Linked DNA regions of Homo sapiens: all the other regions are linked to region 6. Evidence: promoter capture Hi-C in 16 types of primary human blood cells and fetal thymus (Javierre and others, 2016). All regions are on one chromosome and are shown on one strand. Each heading gives the region's core, a stretch centred on a gene start or on the middle of the fragment in contact. The rest is flanking DNA. Distances are from core to core; before and after follow the strand shown.

What was found. The method cuts DNA at HindIII sites, captures the fragments that hold promoters and counts their contacts. A CHiCAGO score of 5 or more calls a contact.
Region 1: a contact is called between a fragment that was not itself captured here and the fragment with the promoter of LINC01590 in region 6, in 4 of 17 cell types (naive CD8 T cells, non-activated CD4 T cells, naive B cells and 1 more). The highest score is 9.2, in naive CD8 T cells.
Region 2: a fragment that was not itself captured here is called in contact with the fragment with the promoter of LINC01590 in region 6 in 14 of 17 cell types (naive B cells, total CD4 T cells, total B cells and 11 more); the score reaches 21.4 in naive B cells.
Region 3: a contact is called between a fragment that was not itself captured here and the fragment with the promoter of LINC01590 in region 6, in 5 of 17 cell types (fetal thymus, total B cells, naive CD8 T cells and 2 more). The highest score is 7.8, in fetal thymus.
Region 4: a fragment that was not itself captured here is called in contact with the fragment with the promoter of LINC01590 in region 6 in 6 of 17 cell types (naive B cells, activated CD4 T cells, total CD8 T cells and 3 more); the score reaches 7.9 in naive B cells.
Region 5: a contact is called between a fragment that was not itself captured here and the fragment with the promoter of LINC01590 in region 6, in 1 of 17 cell types (naive CD8 T cells). The highest score is 5.5, in naive CD8 T cells.
Region 7: a contact is called between a fragment that was not itself captured here and the fragment with the promoter of LINC01590 in region 6, in 6 of 17 cell types (naive B cells, non-activated CD4 T cells, total CD4 T cells and 3 more). The highest score is 7.5, in naive B cells.

Annotation. Positions count from the first base shown.
Region 1 is chr6:88,809,895-88,812,649 of GRCh38, reverse strand. The region is part of intron 11 of RNGTT (RNA guanylyltransferase and 5'-phosphatase); the gene reads left to right. Among named protein-coding and RNA genes, the nearest start is that of RNGTT, 150 kb to the left of the region's middle. The HindIII fragment of the contact is 4,264 bases long and covers 1-2,755 here.
Region 2 is chr6:88,855,740-88,858,491 of GRCh38, reverse strand. The region is part of intron 8 of RNGTT (RNA guanylyltransferase and 5'-phosphatase); the gene reads left to right. Among named protein-coding and RNA genes, the nearest start is that of RNGTT, 110 kb to the left of the region's middle. The HindIII fragment of the contact is 1,302 bases long and covers 645-1,946 here.
Region 3 is chr6:88,737,935-88,740,634 of GRCh38, reverse strand. All of the region lies in intron 13 of RNGTT (RNA guanylyltransferase and 5'-phosphatase), which reads left to right. Among named protein-coding and RNA genes, the nearest start is that of RNGTT, 220 kb to the left of the region's middle. The HindIII fragment of the contact is 154 bases long and covers 1,372-1,525 here.
Region 4 is chr6:88,897,113-88,899,871 of GRCh38, reverse strand. All of the region lies in intron 6 of RNGTT (RNA guanylyltransferase and 5'-phosphatase), which reads left to right. Among named protein-coding and RNA genes, the nearest start is that of RNGTT, 65 kb to the left of the region's middle. The HindIII fragment of the contact is 3,959 bases long and covers 1-2,759 here.
Region 5 is chr6:88,936,564-88,939,263 of GRCh38, reverse strand. All of the region lies in intron 2 of RNGTT (RNA guanylyltransferase and 5'-phosphatase), which reads left to right. Among named protein-coding and RNA genes, the nearest start is that of RNGTT, 26 kb to the left of the region's middle. The HindIII fragment of the contact is 2,921 bases long and covers 1-2,700 here.
Region 6 is chr6:87,395,809-87,398,508 of GRCh38, reverse strand. It overlaps LINC01590 (long intergenic non-protein coding RNA 1590), which reads right to left and starts at 1,385. Exons shown (of 2, transcript NR_026784.1): 1 at 132-1,385. The HindIII fragment of the contact is 8,043 bases long and covers 1-2,700 here.
Region 7 is chr6:88,917,480-88,920,179 of GRCh38, reverse strand. All of the region lies in intron 4 of RNGTT (RNA guanylyltransferase and 5'-phosphatase), which reads left to right. Among named protein-coding and RNA genes, the nearest start is that of RNGTT, 45 kb to the left of the region's middle. The HindIII fragment of the contact is 615 bases long and covers 1,016-1,630 here.

The DNA.
Region 1 (2,755 bases), core at 44-2,543, 1.4 Mb before region 6:
CCAGTTCAGGTTATGGCCTGGCACGTATAGACATTTGAGTTTGGGGTCTCCCCACTAGACCCTGCCACCTGCTCTTCCAAGATAGACATGGAGTAAACTCTTTTACATCTCAAACACTTAACACAGTGGTTGTCACTTATTGGTACTAAGTGAATGTTTGTTGAATGAGTGAATGATGCCTAAATTATGAAATAAAAAAGAATAATTAGAAATCTGATGAAAAGAACTTTTATTGTTCCATGAGGATGTGGTTGACTACTTCTTTGTGGATCTATGAAGGGATTTTGGTAAAAATAAGACTAACGGCAACCAAAATTAAGAGGGTATATTTTCTAGAGAAATTTTGTTTGAGATTTTCTAACTTGTCAAATAGGATTCACCAGAATTATTATGCCTCTTTTTAATTGCAATAATATTGGTTAATGAAAGAGCCAACAATAGTATTGCAAAAGCGATTTATATTTTGATTAGCTAACTTGAATGACATAGTTGTTTAGGCACTATTGGTAAATAGTGGCAATCAAGTCATTCTTTTTTAAAAGAAGATAATGATGTTGGCTTTGTGATGAGCAAGAAGGATGACTTGTAGGATTATTATTTACTGATTAGAAGGACATTCAGAGTACAGAAGCATTGAATAATCCTAACCTGAACTAGAAGTTAGAATTTGGGATTGAAAACCAATAAAGATTAGTATCCAGGGGAGTGCAAATTTCCATTTTTGGGGGGGTTTTAAAACTAAACCTTGGATTTGTGGGGAGTTATGAAAGCACATAAAAGAGTCAAGAGATAGAAGTTACTATATTGAGTATTCTCAGGCAATGAGTTGAGGCTTTGTGGGAATATCTGCTCAGAAGATGTCTGAGTAGAATAGACCAGAACTGAAAGGTGGAGGTAGTTTATTCTTTTTTAAGTATTCCATTGGTATATTTTCCATACTATAATGAATTGATATTGCCAATTCGTATTTCTAATAACATTGGAGATTGAGTTTCTTCTTCACTGTAGTCTTAAGCTGTCATTTTGCTTATTATTTTTAAAAGGCTCCTTTCTATGCTTTGTAACTTTGCAGTTTCTATTTTATTTCTCATGTTTCTAATGTCAAGCCTTTTGCATTATGTTTCTCTGCTTATGCATTTATAACAACTTGGTTTTCGGTTACATCATGATTCATAGACATAAAACATCAACTCAGAGTCAATCATATGGTAACCTTTGTCAGTTCCTCCAATCTTTGGTCCATGCTACATGCCCTCTGTAGGATATTTCAGATGGTATTCAAAGATAAGATTATGTTCATAAGTAAGCAAATTTAAGTTTTATAGGAAAAACCTTATGAAAAGTATCATGCTTTATTAAAAATTGATATATAATGTCTACTGTTTTACTTTTCATCCAATTATCTTCGAATTTTGTCTGGAGGGAAAATTATCAAGAAAATTGTAATTCTGAAAAGGATTGTATCCTAGTTTAGGGTGATTGACCAGATATTCCACTTTAAATTTCTCCAAGATTTTTCAATTAACCATTTCTAAATTAAGATTCTTTTATTTGTTAGAAGTGTTTTAAAAACATCTAGGGTAATTTAAGTAGAACCACGTTTCTGAAGAAAGATTGACAAGGAGAAATTGTAATTATGTCATCACATTTAAATGTTTTTACTGTCAAATTGAAATTAAGGTATTATTTAGGCACATTGGCCAAGGCTTATGTTGTTATTGGGTCCTCATATCCCATTAGCATGTCCTAATGCTGGCTTGGTTTCTAGCATTGGAAGGCAGTCAGGAAATATCTATCTCATGAACACTGCATGCAATTGTATTTTTATTGGGATGTTAATCAACCAGTGAATTATCTATGAAAAACTTAGCTTAGTACTTCTTACATTAGGATACCAGTGCAACTCATGAATAAGTTTTACTTTATATATAGAAAAGGAGAAAAAGAAACAGTAGGTTATTTTTTGAATGTAATATCAGACACAAAAGAATATCAAAGTGAGTTTAAAATTATATCTGTTATTTAAATTATTAAATAAAACCTGACTTTTCAAGTCGTGCTATTTTAAGCACATTGAGACTCTCTTTTTGACTTTTTGCTAACTCCTTTTTTTCATGGAGACTGTGCCTGACAGACTCTTCTCTCAAAGGCTGCCCATCATCGTTGCTGAATACACTTCCCAATGTTTGGTTTGACTTACAACCTTGGCCTCTCAATTTCTTTGAAATTTTCATCTCAGCGACTTAATTTTGAAATTTGGAAATTCATTCCTACCTATTACTCAGTATGCTAAATTTGGACATACTGCTTTGATACAACTTCCATCTTTAAAGGCAGCTGGGACATTTCATCAGCTTCACCATCCAGTGAGCTATGGCTGTTCCGTCTTCAGTGAAGTCCGGTCTTAGCCTTAGGAGGGGAGAAGTTGTTTTTATTGTGTACACTATCTCAGCCCAACTGGCTATTTTTTATATCTGAGATTATGAAATTCTTTACAGTTCTCCTTACTTTCTTAAAGTGGAAGTTGAGGTCGTTGATTTGTAACCTTTTTCTTAATTTTTTTTATTATAAAAATGGGTAAAAAATTTTTTTTTGCTTTTGTTAGGCGATATCTAATTCTGTTGCCCAGGTTGGAGTGCAGTGGTGCAATCAGGACTCATTGCAGCTGCAACCTCTGGGGCTCAAATGATCCTTCTGCCTCAGCCTCCTGAGTAGCTGCGACTTAGGTGCATGCCACCATGCCTGGCTACTTTTT
Region 2 (2,752 bases), core at 46-2,545, 1.5 Mb before region 6:
TCTGGAATGCCTTCCATGATCTCCAAACTCTGACAGGCTCTACCTTTGTAGGCTCCTGTAATAGCTTCTTCTTCACTGTTCTAATATGTATTATGGTTGGAATTATTTAATATCTTGTTTTCTTTTTAAGAGTGTAAATGATGTGAAGTTGAGAAGAGAGTCTGTGCCATTTGCTGTTATAACCCTAGCATCTAGTACTGCCTAGCATCTAGACTGGCTCCAGGTCGGCCCTTTAACTTATATTTTAAAAAATAATTGATTAAAAAATTTAAGAGAAAAGCCATAATAAGTTTGATAGGGGCTAGGAAAAATGGATAGAGATAGAGATGGTGGTGAAATAAATCAATGTAAATGATCAGCTTTTCTGTTTTTATTGCCCATCAAAATGCTCTAGTATGGAGGCTGTATGACAGAAGAAGAGGAATATCTGTTGTTTTGAAGCCACTGTGGTACAAAGAACAAGGGTTAGAATCCTGTCTTAATTCATTGCCACTTTGCAAAGGGAAAATGTTTCTCTGGGTCTGATTATAGACTACATTTCTGGCTTGGTGGCTTTTTTCCCCCTTGTAAAGCTTTAATTTTGCCCCCTGTGTCTAAAAGCAATTTGTGTTTATTTCTAAAAATTTTGAAAGTACAGAAAAGCTTAATGAGGAAAGCAAATATCATTGATAATTCTAATACATAGAGATGGGGCAGCTCTTACTATTTTGGTATAGGCTTTACTCTATATTTACGATATACATACAGTTTTGTCCTCCTCCTTTCCTCTGTAATTATTTAATGTATTCTGGTTTTAAACTTGCTTTTTTCCCACTAAATATATTGTAAATCTCTTTCCATATTAATGAATATTTTTATCATTGTTTAAAAAATGCTTGACTAGTATGCTTTTACATGAATATGCAATATTTATTTTACCTATTTGCTGAATGATGGACATTTGAGTTTTTATCCTTTCACTGTTATAAAATATTATGATGAACTTTGTTGTACATACAGCTTTGCTTAACAAATATTGAGTGCCTTCCTTTAGTGTGTATTCAGGTAGACTGTGCAAGATACTTAAGCTGTGAGAAGGAACAAAATAGATAGGATTTCTGCCTTCATAGAGTATAAGATAAATTCCTGAATTGATGATCAGAGTTGGGTCTAAATTGGTGATAACTTTAAATTACCAGGAGTTTAACGACCATTTTACTCTCAGACTACTGGGAGGAATGTGAATTAGGACTCTAAGGTGGTATTAGTTACCATTGTTTTCTGTCAGTTTTCCTTCTCTTTAATTATGTACTTCCTAATTTTATTAATGTATATTTGGTTGTTTTACTTAATTATATATCTCACATCTCAGCAACTGCTCTGAAAGATTATTTCCAGTTTTGGTAGAAAACCTGCATTTACAGTAAAGTAGTCTATACATCTGGCTTTTCTGTAATCCATATACCTTTGGTTTATATACTTTAGCATTTTCTATCTGGGAAACGTATACTGAATTAAATTTTGCCTTTTAATGGGAATGAATGAATATAATACAAATACCTATTGATAATTCTGAATATTAAATTTGCAGTTGAGATAATTTCCTAATTAATAAGAAATTATATTGCATCATAGTTATATACTAAGGCAGTATCTGACAGTTTGTGAGGTAGTTGCTTCTTTTTAAAGAATCTGGCTGCTTTCAGGGACTTTGGAGTGATGTGGAAATATTTCCACATTCCTTACATGAAATAGCTCCTTACTTTTTGTTAGTATCGCATAACAAAAGAACATATGATTTGGAATGACTGGAGTTCAAACTAAAAATCATAGCTCAGGAACTTGTGTTCCAAAGCCTGAAAATTTATGTGTGCAGAAGAATCCCTAAATACCAAGTGCTAAATAATTTCTCTGGTGTTTCTGCAGATGCAGAAGCTATCCTTTTGTAAATCCCGTCCTCTAAAGCTTTTTCTTCCTTAGTCTTTTAAATCTGTTTATACACATGTGTGCATAGAAAATATTTTCTTTTGATTGATACTCTACTTGATTTAAAAGAAAAGGTCTGATACTAAGATGTGTGTGTGTGTGTGTGTGTAAAATAAATACATCTTCACCCTGGGATAATACCTATTGTGTTTAAACATTAAATTTAAAATTCTCAACTTCTGGGCAGTCAGTGAAAGGGGAAATATAATTTCAGTTATCATTATTACATGATCATAAGAGTAAACCATTTCTTTTTTCTGAATTCTAACATTTATTAGCTTAAGTCAGCTTTTCTCAAATTGTAAGTATAGAATACCAATTCTGTCAAATTTTAACAGATATCAGGATTAAGTTTAGGAAACAATGGACTAAATAAGATGAACAGATTTATTTATATATTTTATCATAACTTTAAATATCCTAATATATATCTTGACGTTCTAAGAGAAAGATACAGTGGTTTCCTAACTTATTTGCCTTGAAATACCCTTTTGGTGAATATCAGCTTTGCAAAATGCCAGCCTAAGTCCTTAACAACATGATGGGTTGTGTGTCTTCCATGCCATTTTTGCAGATGATGTCATCATTGCTTTTTATTTGATCTTCCCTTTTGTTGATTTAAATTCCTTTTGAAACATAATCCAAGGCAAAGCTTACTTCTTCCAAGTAGCTTAGATTCTCTCTATCCACCAGGAATTGCTGCTTTTGAAAAGCATGTGCCAGAGGGTCTTGCGAACTAAGTATTCCTGTTGTCTGTGTGCCAGCTGGCCTGGCATTTGGTCTAGGA
Region 3 (2,700 bases), core at 199-2,698, 1.3 Mb before region 6:
GGCTTCCAGCTTCATCCATGTCCCTGCAAAGGACATGATCTCATTCATTTTTATGGCTGCATCTTATTCTTATTCTTTTCTTTTTTCTCTTTCTTTCCTTTCTTGTTTTTTTGTTTTTTTGAGACAGGGTGTCTGTTACCCAGGCTGGAGTGCAGTGATTTGATCACAGCTCACTGCAGCCTTGACCTCCCAGACTCAAGTGATCCTCTTTACCTCAGCCTCTCGAGTAGCTGGGACCACAGGTGTGTGCTACTATGCTTGGCTAATTTTTTAATTTTTTGTAGAGACGAGGTCTTACTATGTTGTCCATGCTGGTCTCAAATTCTGGGCTCAAGCGATTCTCCTGCCTCGGCCCCCCCAAAGTGCTAGGATTAAAGGCATGAGCCACCATGCCTGATCCCGTTTTCATTTTTTGATCGCTTTTAATTCTGCTGTTCCCTTTCTGAGCAGGTGTAAACTCTAGAGTAGCCCTCTTGCTTTCTCCTGAGTATTCTTTCCTACTTGTTTCACAGAATTCCTTTACTTTCTTCTCTTAGAATTTTCTCTTCCTGCTTCTGAAAAAGGAACATTGTGATTTTAGGAAAAATTTGTTTCTCTGGAAGAAGAGTAGGATGATATCTTTGGTGTCAGCAGAATGGAAGATAACTGATAAATGAATTTTATTGATTCCTCTAAGATGGTATTAATTAGTAGACATATTTTATGTATTACTTTAAAAAATTAATTCTGCTATTCCATAAATTATATCTAAAGGATAAATCCTCATGGGAGCTTCATATAGTAGTTCAAATTTTCTATTTGCTTGGTATAATAAAATTAAACAATGTTAGTTTAGATAAATGGAGCATGTGTTAACATATATATATATATATATATATATATATATATATATATATATATATATATATAATTTTTTTCACACCAGTTACACGGGAGAAATATATCCTAATTCCAAAGTGTGAAATTTGAACTGACAGAATTATAAACATTTTTAACATTTTAAAGTATTTTCAATCTGTTCTGTATGTGATGAGATATTTTTTGAGCCTGTCTTTGTCACATGTTAGAAAATAGTTCCTAAAAGCAAAAGCTCTCTAATTACTTTCTTGTTTTCATACATAAACATAAGTTTACTTAAAATTTTTCTGCTCTATTATTCCAGTGATGTTTTTCTGTGTTTCTGTATTTATTTAATGATGCTTTTGAATTTCTTTAGTGTTACAGGAAAGCTGTTTTCTCTTAGTTTTGCCTTCTCCCTTTGTTCTTCATTTCCCTTGCTTGCCTCAAAAAAACACTTACCAGCTGGAAGTGTTTAAACTGTGAATTGCTGGGTATTGGCCCAACATGAAGAATCCTCTAATTTAATAAGCTTCTTAGAAGAGTTCTTGGTTCCATAAATTTGCTTCACCTTTTGTCTTACCAGCTTGTTAATAATAAGAATAGTATCATTTGTGTGTTTAATGCTTCTAATATGCTTGATTTCCCTTGTATGTAGTTTATATACATTATCTCATTTAATCAAGCTTTTTAATGATTTCTGTTGGCTACAGTGAAAATTTGAGAAAGTTTTTTTATCTTCTTTATATAATTGCATCACATACATTAATAACATAAAGTATAAATTGGTGTCAGTTTTCTAAAGTAAGGAATAATTTTAAGATATAATTATTTTACATTAAGAATTTTAATTTAGTAATTATTTATACATCATTCATTTTAAAATTTCTTTTATGTGAATGCATTATTTCTTCCTGTTTTGGAAGGGGTGTGTGTGTGTGTGTGTGTGTGTGTGTGTATTTTATTTATAGACTTTAGTTTCCAGAACAGTTTTAAATTTACAGAAAAATTGAGTAGATATTAATAGAACAGAAAGTTCCCATATACACCTCTTGGGCCCCCCACAAACAGTGTACCCTATTATTAACATGGCACATTTATTACAATTAATGAACCAATATTGGTATGTTATTATTTATTTATTTATGTTTTGAGACGGGGTCTCACTCTGTCACCCAGGCTGGAGTACAGTGGTGCCATCTTGGCTCACTGCAACCTCTGCCTGCCAGGTTCAAGAGATTCTCTTGCCTCAGCCTTCTGAGTAGCTAGGACTTACAGGCATGTGCCACCATGCCCAGCTAATTTTTGTATTATTTGGTAGAGACAGGGTTTCACATGTTTGCCAGACTTGGTGTGTTATTTTTAACTAAGGTCTGTAGCTTATTCAGATTTCCTTAGTTTTTACTTGATGTCCTTTTTCTTTTCCAGGATCCCATCTAGAATACTGCATTACATTTAGTTGTCATATCTCCTTAGGGTACTCTTGGCTGTGACATTTTCTCATACTTTCCGCGTTTTTAATGACATTGCCAGTTGTGAGAAGCACTGCTCAAATGTATTATAGGATGCTCCTCATTTAGAATTTGTCTCTTGTTTTTCTCATAATCAGACTTGGGGTATGGGTTTAGGGAAAGAAGATCACAGATGAAGTGCGATTTCTATCACACTGTATCAAGAGTACATACTATGAACATGATTTTATGATTTTTGATGTTGACCTTGACCACCTGGCTAAAGTAGGGTTTGTGAGTTTTCTCCATTTTAAAGATAACCCATTTCTTCCTCCTTTTCATACTGTACTCTTTGGAAGGAAATCACTATGTGAAGCCTACACTTAAACACTGAAAAGTTACACTCTCCCCT
Region 4 (2,759 bases), core at 195-2,694, 1.5 Mb before region 6:
CCTTCCACTTGAAGACCTGTAACTCCAGCTTTTATTTCCCATTGCTGTGATATTACTGAAATTTCTGTTCAGCTTCTTAGTGTCTTAGCTACCATTTTTGAAACAGTGCCTCTAGAGGAGAGTACTAGAAAGGAAAAGCTGTAGAAGATGTCTAGCTCACCTCTCTGGCCTCCCTTCCTCCTGAGTTTTTGGCCCTTCAAGTCCTTATTGCCTTTCTAATTCTCTGAGGTCTTCAAATGAATTCTTTAACATTGTCCAGCTTTTTTTTTTGTGGCTACAAAGTTAGTCTAATTAGGCTGGGTGCAGTTGCTCACACCTGTAATCTCAGCACTTTGGGAGGCCGAGGCGGAAGGATTGCTTGAGCTCAGGAGTTTGAGACTAGCCTGGGCAACGTAGTGAGACCTCGTATCTACAAAAAATTAAAAAATTAGCCAGGTGTGGTGGTGTGCACTTGTAGTCTCAGCTACTTATGAGGCTGAGGTGGGGTGGATTGCTTGAGCCTGGGAGGTTGAGACTGCAGTCAGTGAGCTGTGATCATGTCACTGCATTCACCTGCACTTCAACCTAGGTGACAGAGTGATAGGCTGTCTCAAAAAAAAAAAGCCGAAACCTTCTTTCTCTCTTTTTGGAGAAAGCAATTAGTCTTGATTTCTGTTATGAGTTGGTGATTTTTGAGAATATTTGTGCTTATACCTCCAAAGGCCGAATTAGGAAAAAAAAAAAGTTCTAAAACCTTATGCCTTTTGGTAGTTTTTTCTTTTTTCAAACCATAATTAGTAAATCCTAAAATTATTAAATATTTTACTCATATAAGTAATATATTAAAGATGAAAGAACATTAATCTTTAGTTTATTAAAGAAAGTTTGAAAACGAAAGAAAACTTATAATCCTTCAACTTTCATACTACCATTGGTATTGTTGTCTTTTTAGAATAATTTTTCCCTATTTACTTATTTATTTAGCTTTAAAACATACACAGATGACTTAAAGATGAGTTTTTTTTTTTTTGTAAAATATAAATGCAAACATCTAGGAGTATATAGAGTTAAAAGGCAAAATATTTCTTCATTCCCAAGCCATTTGCTCTGTACTTTTTGGTTATTTCTTTGCATATGCACAGAAAACATAGTATAGAAGAATAACTTAGTGTAGAAGAATATATACTGGGGAGATACATATATATAATATATATATATACACACACACACACAGTATATATACTAAAAATTATATATTGTAAAAATTAAGTCCTATATAAAAGTAATACTAGATATACTAAGAAAGGAAAAATTAAAAATTTTTCTATTTGAGAAAGCAAATAGAACCTTTCTTTAGAAGACAAGAGAGGCTATCAATCCATAAAATAATAGCAGGCTATTAAGAAGAGGAACAAATTAGAGATCTTGGAAATGATAAGATTAAAAAACCACTTAGTATGTGGGATGAGTAGCAGAATGAAATTATCAAGCTAGAGGATCTAGCTATGAAATCCTTCCAGCATGCAGCATGAAAAGACAAAAGAAATGTAAAATATGAGAAATAGTTTAGAATTAACTTAAAGGGAGCAATTTAACAGTATGATTTCATGGAGAGGACAAAATTCAATAAGGACGGAAAGTATTTATCTGAGGATTATTTTCTGTGGTGCAGTAGGGCTGGGTCAGACTGGTAATTTTAAGAAGCTAATGGAAGGCGAGAAAGTGGAGACTGAGTTGTGTTAGGGGTTCCCTGTACCACCCTCACTTCTGGAGATTTATTAGAATAACTCAGGACTCAGCATATGGTTGTACTCATAACTCAGATTTATACAGCAACGTACTAAGGATATACAGCTCAATCATAAGAGACAAAGACAAGTAGAGTCTGGGGGGAGTTAATGTGTAGGCTTTCTTGTGCTCTCTTTTTCTCATGAGGGGTCATCCTGAGCTCACTCTTCCTGCAGCAATGTATTTGTGATGTTTCTGTCCATGGAAGCTCATTACACTCTCACTGCTCAAGATTTTTATTGATGGCCGGTCATGTAGGCACTCTGTGCTTAGCATGTAGCAAAATTCCAGGATTCCAGGAGGAAAAAAATTTATTCAGCATAAACTGTATTTTTGGGACAAGTAATCTAGGTTTGGTGAGCCATCCTTATCAGTTGACTGAGAACACTCCAAAAGTCAAGTTCTCAGGTGCCATTCAGGAGCCAACTTTGCAAGCACTAGTGTTAGGTTAACCCTTTTCTGCACACTACTATAAACTATTCATTCAAGTGGCTTGGTTATGATAAAAAAAGGAGCAGAAGGGTAATTGATGCAGACATAGTCAGAAAAGGCTTTTTAGTATGGGATAAATTCAAGCATATTTATTAGTGTGGATAAGGAGCTAGTGAAGTCAATGAAGTTGAAAGTAAAGATTTGGGGAATAATGATAGAGAAATCTCTGAGGAAGTGCAAGGGAATGGAGGTCAAATGCAGTTTTTGGAGTAATAGGTCTTCAGCAATAGGAGGGAAATATCTTTCTTAGTACTGGAGATGTAATTGAGATTGTGATTTTTTCCTCAGTAAGTTTCAGCTGCCTATGTATGAGAGTGGAAAAGACTAACGGTAGGTTGACTCAAGGCTGGAGAAATTCAGTTTGGGTGTGATGAAGAACAAGAGGGTAAGGGGCACTGAGGCTGTCAGAGGAAAAATAATTGAAGTAATCAGCCATAGGTTCTAGGCTGAATAGGAAGTAAGGTCAGGATGAGGGTGCTGTTAGAATATGTAAAGGAGAA
Region 5 (2,700 bases), core at 80-2,579, 1.5 Mb before region 6:
ACACCAGAAAGTGGCCAAATATTCAAATTTTTGGTGTTCCAGAAGATGAAGAGAGAACAAAAGGGTTAGAAAACCTATTTAATGAAATAATAGATTAAAACTTTCTAAGTTTAACAAGAGGTTTAGACATCCAAGAGGATCAAAGATCCCACAAAAGATAATATCTAAAAAGGTCTTCTCCACAACGCGTTATAGTCAAACTGTTAAAAGTCAAAGAGAAAATTCAAAAAACATTAAGAGTGTCTAGTCATTTATAAGAGAGCTCCCATTAGACTAATAGTGGACTTCACAGGAAAAACCTTATAGGCCAAGCGAGAGTAGAGGATATATTCAAAGTTCTGAAAGAAAACGCCTACCACCCAAGGATACCATACCCAGCAAAGTTATTCTTTCTTCATAAATGAAGGAGAAATAAAGTCTTTCCCAGACAAGCAAAAGCTGAGGGAATTCACCACAACTGGACTGGTCCTGTAAGAAATGCGTTAGACAGTCCTGTACCTGAAATTGAAAGACTAGTAACCACCATCATGAAAACACAAAAATATAAATAAAAACCACTGACAGAGCAAACACATCAACAATGAAGGGGGAAAAACTCAAATGTTACCACTACACAATACCACCAAACCACAAAGATGAAACAATAAGAGAGAAAGAAAGGACAAAGAATATACAAAACAACCAGAAATTAATAAAATGACAGGAATAAGCCTTCACATATTAATAATAACCTTGAATGTAAGTGGATTACACTTTCCATTTAAAAGATGTAAACTGGCCGAATGGATATAGAAACACGACTTATCCATATGCTGCCTACAAGAAACTCATCTCAACTGTAAAGACACACATAGACTGAAAGTAAAGGGATGGAAAAAGTGTTCCATGCACATGGAAACCAAAGGTGAGCAGGAGTAGCTAAACTTATATCAGATAAAACAGACTTTAAGTCAAAAACAGTAAAAGGAGATCAAGAAGGTCATTATATAATGATAAAAGGATCAGTTTGGCAAGAGGATATAACAATTCTAAACATATATGCACTCAACATCAGAGTACCCAGATATATAAAGCAAATATTATTATATCTAAATGGAGATACAGTCTCCCGTATAATAGTAGTTGGAGACTTCAGCACCCCACTGTCATCATTAGACAGATTGTCAAGACAGAAAATTAACAAACATTGGATTTAAAGTGCACATTAGACTAAATGGACCTAACAGACATTTACAGAACATTTCATCCAGTAGCTATAGAATACACATTTTTCTTGTGAGGAAATGGAACAATCTCTAGGATAGACCATATGTTAGGACACAAAACAAGCCTTAACAAATAAAAAAGTCAAAATCATATCACATACCTTCTTAGACCACAATGGTAGAAAAGCTAGAAGTCAATAATAAGGGACTTTGGAAATTGTACAAATACATGGAAATTAAACATGCTCCTGAATGACCATTTGGTCAAGGAAGAAATTAAGGTGGAAATAAACCTCTTGAAACACATGAAAATTGAAACACAACATACCAAAACCTAAGAAGTACAGCAAAGCAGTGCTAAGAAGGAAGTTTATAGCAATAATTGCCTACATCAAAAATGTAGAAGGATTCAGATAAATAATGATGCACCACAAGGAACTAGAAAGGCAAGAACAAACCAAAAATTTGTAGAAGGAAAGAAATAATAAAGATCAGAGCAGAACTAAACAAAATAGACACTAAAAAAAAAAATACAAAGAATCAACAAAATGAAAAGTTGGTTTTTTTGAAAGGATAAACCAAATCAATAAATCCATTGCTAGACCAACCAAGAAAAACAAGACCCAAGTAAACTAAATCAGAAATGAGAAAGAGAATATTACAGTTGATACCACAGAAATACAAAAGATCATCAGAGACTATTTTTTTTTTTTGAGATGGAGTTTTGCTCTTGTTGCCTAGGCTGGAGTGCAATGGTGGGATCTCAGTTCACTGTGACCTCCACTCCCAGGTTCAAGTGATTCTTCTACTTCAGCCTCCTGAGTAGCTGGGATTACAGGCATGTGCCACTGCGCCTGGCTAATTTTTTGTATTTTTTAGTTGAGATGGGGTTTCTTCATGGTGGTCAGACTGGTCTCGGAACTCCTGACCTCACGTGATCTGCCCGCTTCGGCCTCTTAAAGTGTTGGGATTACAGGCGTGAGCCACCGTGCCTGGCCCATCAAAGACTATTATGAACAAGTATACACTAACTGGAAAACCTGGCAGAGGTGGATAAGTTCCTAGATATATGCAACCTACCAAGATTGAATCAGGAAGAAATAGAAAAGCTGAGCAGACCAATAACAGGTAGGGAGATTTAATCAGTAATGAAACATTTCCCAACAAAAAGTCTAGGACCGGATGCCTTCACCACCAAATTCTACCAAACTTTTAAGGAAGAACTAACACCAATCCTCAAATAATCCTGAAAAGATTGAAGAGGAGGGAATTCTAACTCATTCTGTAAAGCTAGCATTATGTTTATACCAAAACCACAACAAAAAGAGAAAACAGGCCAGTATCTCTGATGCAATGATGGTTCAGCATATGCAAATCAATAAATATGATACATTACATCAATAGAATGAAGGACAAACACCATGTGATCATCTCAATAGAGTCAGACAAAGCATTTGATAAGAATCAACATCCCTTCATGATAAAAACTCTCAAC
Region 6 (2,700 bases), core at 136-2,635:
TGAACCTGGGAAGCGGAGGTTGGGGTGAGCCAAGATCACGCCATTGCACTCCAGCCTGGGAGACAGAGTGCAAGACTCCATCTCAAAAAAAGAAAAGAAAAGAAAAAGAAAGAAAGATAGTAATAACTCACCTGAATTTCTCGTCAGCACTTCAGGATCATGATCTCTAACACTCATCTTCTCTCTGTCACACTCAGGGTTGGGGTGCAGCCCCAGCTGAGGTCTGAGGACAGTGGGTGGATGTGGGGCAGGGAGCTGGAAGAACACTGGAGAGACAGCAGGTAAATGAGACATGGCTTTATTCAGCAGCCCCTTCACAGGGTCAGTGTTACATTTATACACTACACAAACACTAGTGGCTGAGAGCCAGGTGGGGAGCTGCTCTATGTTATGCCTACATGGCTGTGACTATATAAGACACAGGACTGTGCACTTGCACCCCAATCCCGCTGAGATGTCTAGGCTGTTTACCTCGGCCTATTCCTGCTACCCTATGCCTGCTTGGCTACAGCACAGCCATGTTCCTTACACTCTCCAAACCTGTCCCACTCTCTGCATTCTTTATGGGATGAATTGGCATTGATTTAATAGCTGGCTCAAACCTGATCCCACTTCCCCCACTCCCTCTCCCCTCACACTCAGACCTGTCACTAAGCCTGTCCAGCCCTTCTCAGCAAGTCTCACATCCATTTCCTTCCCTAATTACTAATGCTCTCACTCAGGCAGGTTATGGGAATCTCCTAACTGTATTATCTGCTTCCAGGCTGGGGCACTCCCACAGGCAAAGCTGATAATATTACTGCCTGTGTACTGCCCTTTCTGCAGACCACAGAAGGCCCTGCAGAAGAAAATTCAGTCCTCCTCAATGGGATGCAAGACCCTCCTGCAACTGGCCTCTGTTTATCTCTAAACCTGCACTGTTCAATATGGTAGCCACTAACTGATGAAACTATTTAAATTTAAATTAGCTAGAATTAAATGAAAGTTAATATTCAATTCTTCAGTTGTACTGGCCAAATGTGGCTAGAGGCTACCGTATTGGACAGTGACAATATAGAACATTTCCATCATTGTAGAAAATTCTGTTGGATACTTACCTTACCCCTACTGCACCTGAACTCAAATTTTCAAATGATCCGCACCTTTGAGCATACTGTGCTTTAGCTGAGGCAACCTCCTTTAATTGGATTACTTACCTTGCCAACGATGCCCTTCAAAACACAGATCAAATGTCATCCTATTCAGAGAAGCCTTTCCAGCCAAGCCTCCCACTCTTGTGCAAGTGATCACTTCCTCATTTGGACGCCCATTGCACTCTCTGCAGACTTCTACCATAGCGCCCCTAACACTCCATGTCACCTAGTGTTCATGTCTGTTTCCCTTTACTACAGTGTGAGCCTGGGCTGGGGTCAGGAACCCAATCTTATTCATTTTTCTAGCCCCAGCTCTAGACTAATGCCTGACATATAGGATATGCTAAGAACTAATTTTGTGAATGAATAAATATTACCAATAAATATTCTAAGGTCAAGATTTTATCAGACTTCAGAAACAAGAGAATGCCCCAATTTAAATGCCTCACTGACAGGTAAAAACTTTGAAGAGGAAATATATTTCCAGAATGATCATCGAAATACTGGATATGCTCTTTTAAGTCGCAATGTCATGCTAGAGTTGTGTTCCATTTACAACTAACCCACGAGAGGCATGACAATTGGAGTGGATAATTGAGATGGTTTGACAGGTATAGCGAGGTGTGGCTGACTGCACACGAAGGAAATTCCAGCTTCAGCAATTATTAGATACACACCTACGACATTAAAAGCATGAAGATTTGGCTAGTCAATTCAAATATTAAGTGTCTAGGCTTAAAAATATTTTATTGGGACATTTTCCATTATAAAAATAAGACATGCTCTTTATGAAAATTTGGGAGTACAAATCTGCCACCCATAGATTCATTAACAAAGGATTAATGTTGTTAACATGTTCATGTAATGACTCACCTTATCTACATTCTTACCATATCTTATGTTACTCCTTTACAGTCAACATTACAACACAGACATTTTTATATCTTATTATGGGCTGTATTTTTAATAGCTGTATAATATGCAATTGAGTGGATGTGTCATAATTTACTGAAGTATTCCCACTATTATGTAGTATATTTTCAAGTTTTCACCATTATAAATAACAGTGGAGTTATTTGAGTATAAGAATTTTTTGTATCGCATGTAATTTATTCAGATTCCCAGATGTGAAATATCTGAGTTTTTAAATATCTGCTTCATTTGCTACTTTATTCCTAGTACCTAGAACAATGCCTATCCCATGGTAGGTATTTTATTAATAATTGTTTAATGAATATGAGATGTTAATTAAGTGGAAAAAAGCTGGCTTGATATGTAGACACCAAAAGCATGTCATAGGCATGTCTTGTGACAGGTTCCAGGGAAGACTTTGTCCCCACTTTTAAAAAAATTAATAAATTTTATTTTTTAGAGCAATTTTAGGTTCACAGCAGTATTGAGTAGAAAGTACAAAGTTCCCGTCTATCCCTATCCCCACACACCTAACCTCCCTGGCTACTGACATCCTGCACCACGGTGGCACATGTTATAATTGATGAACCCATCATTATCACCTGAAGTCCATAGTTTAGGATTCACTCTTGGTGCCGTGGAATCTATGGGTTGG
Region 7 (2,700 bases), core at 74-2,573, 1.5 Mb before region 6:
GAGGAACAACTGCATTAATTTTTTTTGCCTTTATTGTATTATATTAAATAATTTTTTAGAGACCAGGTCTGGCTATGTTGTTCAGGCTGGACTTCAACTTCATCCCACAAATTGTAACAATTAAAATTGTCTCTAGACATTACAAAATGTCCCCTGGGGGGCAAAATCTTCCCCAGTTGAGAACTACTGAATCCTCGGTGCAGTGGCTCACGCCTGTAATCCCAACACTTTGGGAGGCCGAGGCGGGTGGATCACCTGAGGTCAGAGTTTGAGACCAGCCTGACCACCATGGTGAAACCCTGTCTCTACTAAAAATACAAAATTAGCCAGGCGTGGTGGCGCATGCCTGTAATCCCAGGTACTCAGGAGGCTGAGGTAGAGGTTGTAGTGAGCCGAGATTGCTCCATTGCACTCCAGCCTGGGCAAAAAGAACAAAACTCCGTCTCAAAAAAAAAAAAAAAAAAAAAAAAAAGAACTACTGACCTAATTAGACTGATCAAATAATTAGGATTTTTAGCATTAAAAAATTTATCTAGCTAGTGAGATAGAAATAAAATTGTGGGCCAGGTGTGGTGGCTCATGCCTACAATCCCAGAAGACCAAGGCCAAGGATCTCTTGAGCCCAGGAGTTCAAGACCAGCCTTGGCAACATAGAGAGACCCTGTCTATACCCCCCACACCCTCCAAAATAGTGTATGTTGAGATCAGGCTTTATTTAAAAAGATACATTGTCACCAGCCCCTTTATAAACTGCCCCAACATGTATAGCTATAGCTAATCTCTCTGTCTATTTGTTGGGGAGTTTCTTTCCCTAGTTTGATTGTAAATGCCATATACATTTATTTCATTATATTAGCTTGCCTGGAAAAATTTGAATAGAAGTTGCCTTGAAATAGTTAATTGTGAGCTAATATTTAGTTAAAAACTGTGGCTTACTTACCACTAGATGGACCCATTCTCATGATGAAGAAAACTGAAAATTGCTTTAAACAAAAACTGAAGACGTATCTAAGCTTGTAGTATACCTAATTAATGGATTTTTTAATATCAAATACATAATCTCCCACATTTTTCTATAGTGGTTTGTTTTGATGGTTTTGTAACTTTATAACCCTATCTATAAATGTTTTGATGTATAACTGAACCATTAGACTAAGACTTTTTGTATTTGCATATAAAGAATATTAAAAGGAAAATGGTACTTTCCTAGATTACATATCTTCACATGACATATTAGCTAATTGGCAATTATTATTACATTTCCTATTCATAAAAATATTTAATCTTGCAAGAGTAAAAATTGGATACAAAAACAGTAGCTTAGGTGAGAAACATCGAAAGTTGAAATATTTGTTGCTTGAATTGGTCTGAAATAGAAGATAGTAAGGAAATTTACATGTTGGGTTAAGATACATGAATACAAAAATGTGTTTATAGTGCACATCTTTGTGTGGCTTTTTTGAAGCACTTTTTCTTACAAAGCAATGGAGATAATGGAATTTATAGATTTTCTTGGTCATAGCTATTTATTTCTAAGTGATGTCTTCAGTTCAAGGCTGATCTCTTTGTTTTTTATTTTCTTCTTTCAGAAACTTAATTTCACTTATATCGTTTCTATTATTGTCAAGCTTTGTGGTTTAACTAGGTTCTTGTCCTGAGCCTGTAAACATACCTAAACTTGTTAAATAATCCCCTCCCGCTGAAAAAAACCCCGTACCCTTCTTTCTGTTTTGCATTCCCTCTTCCCTTTCTCAGCTGACTTTTTAAAAGAATCTATACTTGAATCCATTTTTTCCTATCCACTTTGTTGCAGTCTGGAGTCCTCCCTCAGCACTGTTTTTTGTTTGTTTGCTTTTTAAGACTGTGTCTCACTCAGTCATCCAGGCTGGAGTGCAGTGGTGCAATCATAGCTCACTGCATCCTCGACCTCCTGGTCTCGAGCAATCTTCCCACCTCAACCTCCCGAGTAGCTGGTACTACAGGCACTTGCCACCATGCCTGGCTATTTTTTAAATTTTATTTTTTGTAGAGACAGGGTCATACTGTGTTGTCCAGGCTGGTCTTGAACTCCTGGCCTCAAGTGATATTCCCGCCTCGGCCTCCTAAAGTGCAGGGATTACAGGCATGAGCCACTGCACCTGGCTAGCACTCTTAATCAAATAGTGATTTTCCATTCTAATCATTATGTGACATCTAAGCACTCATAACTTAGAAAATTTCCTTTACTTGGCATACATGACCCTGTGTTTTTGTTCTTTGAAGCCCATCATGGTTCATTCTCAGTCTTTTTTTTGAGATGGTGTCTCGCTCTGTCGCCCAGGCTAGAGTGCAGTGGCATGATCTCAGCTCACTGCAATCTCTGCCTCCTGGGCTCACGCGATTCTCCTGCCGCAGCCTCCCGAGTAGCTGGGATTACAGGCAACCGCCACCAACCCCAGTTAATTTTTCTATTTTTAGTAGAGATGAGGTTTCTCCATGTTGGCCAGGCTGATTTTGAACTCCTGGCCTCAAGTGATCCGCCACCCTCAGCCTCCCAAAGTGCTGGGGTGGGGATTACAGGCCAGAGCTATAATCAGCCGTGGGAGTGGTTTTTCTAAACTCTGATAATTTTATTGCCATGCTTAAAATTCTTTACTATATCTCCATTGCCTTTATAATCTTTAGTATGTTTCACAGGTTTTTTTAGGATTTTGACCCTTT